Linked DNA regions of Homo sapiens: region 2 is linked to region 1. Evidence: promoter capture Hi-C in human tissues and cell types (Jung and others, 2019). All regions are on one chromosome and are shown on one strand. Each heading gives the region's core, a stretch centred on a gene start or on the middle of the fragment in contact. The rest is flanking DNA. Distances are from core to core; before and after follow the strand shown.

Evidence for each region. The method cuts DNA at HindIII sites, captures the fragments that hold promoters and counts their contacts. A contact is called where the count stands out against the background at its distance.
Region 2: a contact is called between a fragment that was not itself captured here and the fragment with the promoter of MYO5C in region 1, in 1 of the 25 tissues and cell types used here (pancreas).

Annotation. Positions count from the first base shown.
Region 1 is chr15:52,294,331-52,297,719 of GRCh38, forward strand. MYO5C (myosin VC) reads right to left here and starts at 1,474. Exons shown (of 41, transcript NM_018728.4): 1 at 1,280-1,474. The coding sequence starts at 1,306. It overlaps LOC105370819 (a long non-coding RNA gene), which reads left to right and starts at 554. Exons shown (of 4, transcript XR_932250.3): 1 at 554-881. RefSeq lists a silencer at 1,138-1,297. The HindIII fragment of the contact is 3,447 bases long and covers 120-3,389 here.
Region 2 is chr15:52,488,552-52,491,940 of GRCh38, forward strand. All of the region lies in intron 1 of MYO5A (myosin VA), which reads right to left. Among named protein-coding and RNA genes, the nearest start is that of MYO5A, 39 kb to the right of the region's middle. The HindIII fragment of the contact is 5,770 bases long and covers 1-3,389 here.

The sequences.
Region 1 (3,389 bases), core at 224-2,723:
AGGGCTCACAGTCTCACTGGTGAAAATATTCTAGAACAAAACTAGGGCAATTCAAACACTGTCCATTTAGAACTCCAGTTAATGGAGATGCAATAGAGGAGAAACTACAGTTCGGTTGCTTTGTGTCCGGACTGTTACTAAGTAATCAAAGTAGAAGAAAAACGTTTGCTTAAACCATTGAAACATGATTTTTTAAATAACTATCTTTTCTATCTACAGCAAAAGCATCTTTTAAAGTAGAAAGCTAGAGCATGTGTCCGGGGAAATGGATGGATTCTAGTTCCACTCGTCTGAATACTGAGGTCTCTAGATTTCCCCAACTGGTGTATAGGAGGATCAGGCTTTATGGCTATTCAAATGGATTTTTTTTTTCAAAAGTGCTAACACTGTCACACTCTTTATCCAAATAATTACCCAAGCCCATCTCAGAGGGTTTGGGACATATGTGGGAACGCTGCCCTTCCGAGGTAAGAGGTGGAGCCCCAGCCAGCAGAAAGGAAGCTTCTGAGGAATGCTCTAGTGTTTCCCAGAGTCAGGGTATATGAAAGGCGCTTTAGAAACTGTGGTGTTTGTACTGTTGCTAACAGTACAGATGTTAGGCAAAGAGCCTACGACTGCACCTCGTGGCCCCTGGGCTCCCCAAGCGCTTGGTGCCACTGCAGTGCCCTCAAGCCTGTGACCCAGGCTGCTTCAGCTTCTGATGAGCCTACATGCACGTTCACGCACTTTGAAGACACAGAATTCTAGAAAGCAGCCCGAACACTGCGGCCATAAGCTTCTATGCCAGCTCGTTCAAGGGGGTCCCAGGAGGGGCCAGGAGACTGGCCGGCGTCTCAGCTTCCTACGTCCGCATGGGCAACTCTGATTCCACCCGTGGTGTGGTAGGAAGGGACCGAGGCGCTCCAGTCCCGGGAGATGGGGACGCACGCGCGACCCCTGGGCACTGGGGATTCTAGGCCCCGAGGCCGGAGCGGCGGAGGGGGCGGCCCCTCCCACAGGGTCTTCCCACCCACAGGGCACCCAGGCGCAGCGGAGCCAGGAGGGGGCTTACCCGCGGGCAGGGACGGAGCACGCCGGGGCCCTGGAGGGGCGACGCTCGCTCGTGTCCCCGGTCCCCGTGGCCCCTCCGCGGCGCCTCCGCGGCCCCCAGCGCGCGCCCGCCCGCCCTGCCGTGTCAGGTGCGCAGGTGTGGCAGGTGTGGCCCGGGCGCCAGGTCGAGTCAGCGTTAGCAGGGCCGGCTCCCCCACAGCGCTCCCAGGAGCCCAGCGGACCCTCCTACCTGCGTGTACAGCTCGGCCACCGCCATGGGCAGGAGGGGCCGGGGCCAGGCCGGGGCTGCCGAACGTGCGAGGCTCGGGGGCTGGGCCTGCGCCGCAGAGGCCGGGCGCAGGAGAGACCGCCGCGGAAATCACCGCCGGGCCATCTTGCCCAAAGTTTTCCAACGGCCTCCTGTTCCCGTTCCCGAGTTGGCGGCGAGGGGAGGGGGCAGCGGCGGGATTGGTCCCTCCAAGCTTGGCCCGGCTAGTCGGCGCTGCCATTGGCCGGGGCCGGGCGGCTGCACCTGGCGGGAGCGCGGGTGGAGAAGGTTGGGGCCCGGGGCGCGCTGCCAGGCAGGAACAGATGCATCCGGAGGCTGCCCGGCCCGAGTGTTAGCTCCTCAAAGAGCAGAGGATACGACCATTTAAATGGAAGACCCAAGGGAATCAACGTACTGAACACAAAGAAATGTGTTAAGAGTCCAGCAAGGTCATCGTATTCAAAATCAAATACAAAAATAAGTAATGGTCCTTTATATGAGCATTGTCTATGCAATACAAGATATTTACAATATTAGTGAAAATATAAAGTATCCAGAGATTACACTCGCAAAAATGCCCTTGGCCTTTGTGGAGAAAATGTTTAAAATTCTCTTAAAGAGCTTAAAAGAAGGCCCAGGTAAACGGGAGACATGCCATTTTCCTGGCTGGGAATATTTAATATGGTCAAGGTGTCACTTCTACCCAAATCAATATATATGCCTAATATATTGGCGTCAGAATCCTACAGAACTTTTGGAGAATTGTACAATGATTCTATATTTCATATAGAATAAAAGCCCTGTATAACTAAGACAATTCTCAAAGAGGAGAGATTTGTCCTGCCATATATTTAGGGACATAACAAAGCAGTAGTCATTAAAACAGTGTGACACTTGCGTGAGAACGGATACGTGAGTAATGGAACATGCTGGAGCCCCCCAGCAGGGCCCTACATTATACGGTAGCCTTAAGGACCAGATAGGGAAATAAAATAATATTTATTAGATGGGCCCGTTATATGGAAAAACAATAAAAGCAGATCCGTGGCAAACACTGCATCCAAAAATAAGCTCCAGATGGATTCACGATTAAAACTTAAAACCGGGAAATTATTAGGAATAAAAGAGGGATAATATCTTTAAAATGTTGGGTTATAGTAGTTTCCATATAGAAGAATTGTTAATCGGTTAAAGAAAAGAAATCCAATTTTTAAAACTGACAAAAATTAATAGGCAATTCACAGATGGGGACACTTAAATGGCTTGTTAGCATACAAGGAGATGTCAACTTTAGCAGTAATCAGATAAATACAAATGAAAACAACAATGAGATATTGCTTTTTACCCATCATATTGGCAAAAACATTTAGGTTAGACAATCTCAGATACTGCCTAGGATGTGAGAAAATAAAAACTTGGCCGGGCGCGGTGGCTCACGCCTGTAATCCCAGCACTTTGGGAGGCCGAGGCGGGCGGATCACGAGGTCAGGAGATCGAGACCATCCTGGCTAACACGGTGAAACCCCGTCTCTACTAAAAATACAAAAAATTAGCCGGGCGAGGTGGCGGGCGCCTGTAGTCCCAGCTACTCGGGAGGCTGAGGCAGGAGAATGGCGTGAACCCCAGGGGGCGGAGCCTGCAGTGAGCCGAGATTGCGCCACTGCACTCCAGCCTGGGCGACAGAGCGAGACTCCGTCTCAAAAAAAAAAAAAAAATAAATAAAAAAAATAAAAACTTTTTTTGCTTACATAACTGGTGGGAATATACTGCCATCCTGGAGAGCAATTTGAGAATAGTTATGAAAATAAATGTAGGCAGAAAAATTCTCACAGTCACCCAAAGAGACAGTTAAGTAGATGTTCATCACAACATAGTTATTTATCAAAGAGTTGGAAGCATCTAAATATCAATAGGGGAATAAATAAAATAGTATATACATGGCAGACAGCAGAGAAAAATAAAAAAAGAAATAGTATATACATGTAAAACTCTACAGCTGTTAGTAGGAATAGACATGATCTACTTGACTCAGAAATAAAAAACAATGTTGAATAGATGTCTAGCCCAAGTCTTTAATATTTAAAAACTCACA
Region 2 (3,389 bases), core at 598-3,097, 190 kb after region 1:
CCATAAAGTACATAGAAAGGCATACTCTGACATAACACACATTTGATCAGAAATGTCTATGTTTACCTTAAACATATGAGTGAAATAATAAAATGGTTGTGATTTGCCTTAAAATCTTTCAGAAGAAGAAAATGTTGGGAAAAAGAAGAAATGAAGCAAATGTGCAGAAGGCTGTTATTTGTTGAAGCTGCGGGCTTGGGGGGATTTGTTTTACTCTTCTCCTTACTTTGTGAATGTTTCAAAAACTTTTCAAAATAAAAAGTTTAAAAAGCTAAACTAAAAAGTATAAATGACACTTAATAACAAATAATATTTAACAATTTCTCTTTCTTAAAACGCAAAACTCTCTGGGGAAAGATGAGATAAATCAGTAACAACTGCCCATGGGAGGAGGCATTATAGCAAGATTTCCACAGCAAGCAGTTGTCAATAGCATAACTAAATTTAGAACCTTAACTTATCTTCTACATGGCGTGTACATGCACCATTAGACCAAAGTGTAAAAGTAAAACTGCAGAGAATGAAGATAAACCTTCCTTATACCACATAGAAAAATTAACTCAAAATGGACCAAAGACCTAAATGTTAAGAGCTAAAACTGTAAGACTCTTAGAAGAAAATACAGGAGGAAAACTTCATGATACTGAATTTGGCACTGATTTCTTGGAGCTGACACCAGGAGCACAGGCAATAAAAGAAAAAGGTAAATAAATTTAAAACCTCTCTGCATCGGCTGGGCGCGGTGGCTCATGCCTGTAATCCCAGCACTTTGGGAGGCCGGGGCGGGCGGATCACGAGGTCAGGAGATCAAGACCATCCTGATTAACACAGTGAAACCCCGTCTCTACTAAAAATACAAAAAATTAGCCGGGCGTGGTGGCACGCACCTGTAGTCCCAGCTACTCGGGAGGCGGAGGCAGGAGAACTGCTTGAACCCAGGAGGCAGAGGTTGCAGTGAGCCAAGATCGTGCCAGGGCACTCCAGCCTGGTGACAGAGCAAGACTTTGTCTAAAAAAAAAAAAAAAAACCAACCTCTGTGCATCAAAGGGCACAATCAACAGAGTGAAAAGGAAACCCACATAATGAAAGGAAATATTTGCAAATCATATATCTGATAAAAGATTCATACCCAGAATATATAAAGAATTCTACAACTCAGCTGTGCATGGTGGCTCACACCTGTAACCTCAGCACTTTGGGAGGCCAAGGCAGGAGGACTGCTTGAGCCCAGGAGTTCAAGACTAGCCTAGGCAACATAGTGAGACCTGTCTCTAAGTAAATTTAAAACAAAAATAAAAGAATTCTACAGCTGAACAGCAACAATGATGAACAACCTGATTTTAAAATGAGCAAAGACTTTGAATAGACGTTTCTCCAAACAAGATACACAAATGGCCAATAGGCACATGAAAAGATGCTGAACATCATTAATCATTAGGGAAATGCAAATCAAGCCTACAATGAGATACCATTTCACTCCTATTAGAATACCTACTATCAAAAAACTAGAAAATAACAAGAGTTGGACAGGATGTGGAGAAATTAGAACGATTGTGCCCTGGAGAAATTAGAACCTCTGCACCCTGGTAATGTAAAATGGTGCAGCCAGTACGGAAAACAGTATGGTGGTTCCTCAAAAAATTAAATATATAATTCCTATATAACCGAGGAATCCCACTTCTGGTTATATATCCAAAAGATTTGAAAGCAAGGTCTCAAAGAGATGCTTGTACACCCATGTTCACAGCAGCATTCTTCACAATAGCCAAAGGATGGAAGCAACCCATGTCCATCAATGGATGAATAGATTAAACAAAAATGTGGTGTATTTACTCAAAAGAATATTATTTGGCCTCAAAAGAGAAGGAAATTCTGAAAGATGTCACGACATGGATGAACCTTGAGGAAATTCTGAAAGATGTCACGACATGGATGAACCTTGAGGACATTACGCCATATGAAATAAGCCAGTCATGAAAAGACAAATACTATATGATTCCACTTATATAGGGTACCTAGAGTAGTCAGATTCATAGGGAGAGAAAGTAGAATAATGGTTGCCAGGGACTAGAGGGAGTGGGGAATAGGGAGTTATTGTTTAATGGGTACAGGGATATAGTTTTGCAAGATGAAGAGTTTTAGAGATTGGTTGTACAACAATATGTTGTTGTTGTTGTTGTTGTTTGAGACAGGGTCTCATTCTGTTGCCGAGGCTGGAGTGCAGTGGTGTGATGATCACAGCTCACTGCAACCTCAAACTCCTGGGCTCAAGCAATCCTCCCACCTCAGCCTCCCAAGTAGCTATAACTAGAGGTGCAGCCACCACATCCAGCTAATTTTTTTATTTTTTGTATAGACGGGGTCTCACTATGTTACCTAAGCTGGTCTTGAACTCCTGCGCTCAAGGGATCCTCCTGCCCCAGCCTCTCAAAGTGCTGGGATTATAGGTGTGAGCACCATGCCTGGCCTGGTTGTACAACAATATGAATGTACTTAACATTACTGACCTGTACACTTACACATGGTTAAGATGGTTAACTTACGTTATGTGTATTTTACAATTTAATTTTTTTAAATTTAAGTATACATTTACATTCTAAATATTTATTAAACGCCCAACCATCCAGCTGTTTCAAAAAAGGCACATCTCCAAAGATGACCTACGATGATAACTACATTGGGCCTTGGCTGTTGGATTATTCCTACCAAGTTGAATTAAGAGGGACTTAAGTAACTCATTAATTAGAACTTCATTACTAAGGTACTGAAGGATTTCATTGCATAGAAAATTAATGCATGTGGGGGTCTACAATTTTTAGTAGGGTTCTGATGTTTTCTATTAATATTTTGTTTTTATAGAGTCTTTAAAAAATAAGAAAACCCCACATTTCCACCTACATCATAATATCTAGTCACAATGACACTGTACCAACTCTAGATAATTAAAGCCAGCTTTTGCTCAGAGATCCCCGCCAGGGTTACCTCCTGAAAAGCAAGTAATGAACACTAAGCCATGTATTTTTTATTGGATTCTCTAAAGTAACATGAGTCAGGCTCCAAGTGTCAGAAGATCTGTCTCATGCTAACAAAAACAAAGATATTTACTGTTTAATCCCCTTTTATCCAAGTACATCAATGTTCTTGGCAAACATTAATCAAACGGAAATTAAGGCATATCCTCAGGATATATGAAGGCATTGGGCTTTCAAAAACTCATACACGAAGCATCTAGATCCAACTACTAATTTACAAAGCAACACATTGAACTACACCATGGCAACATAATTAGCAAAAACTGGACTGCGGGAAACTATGCAGGAAAAATGATCCAGTTTTTTCAACAAAATAAATTTCAAGGAAAAAAGAAAAGAAAAAGAGATAGAGTACGA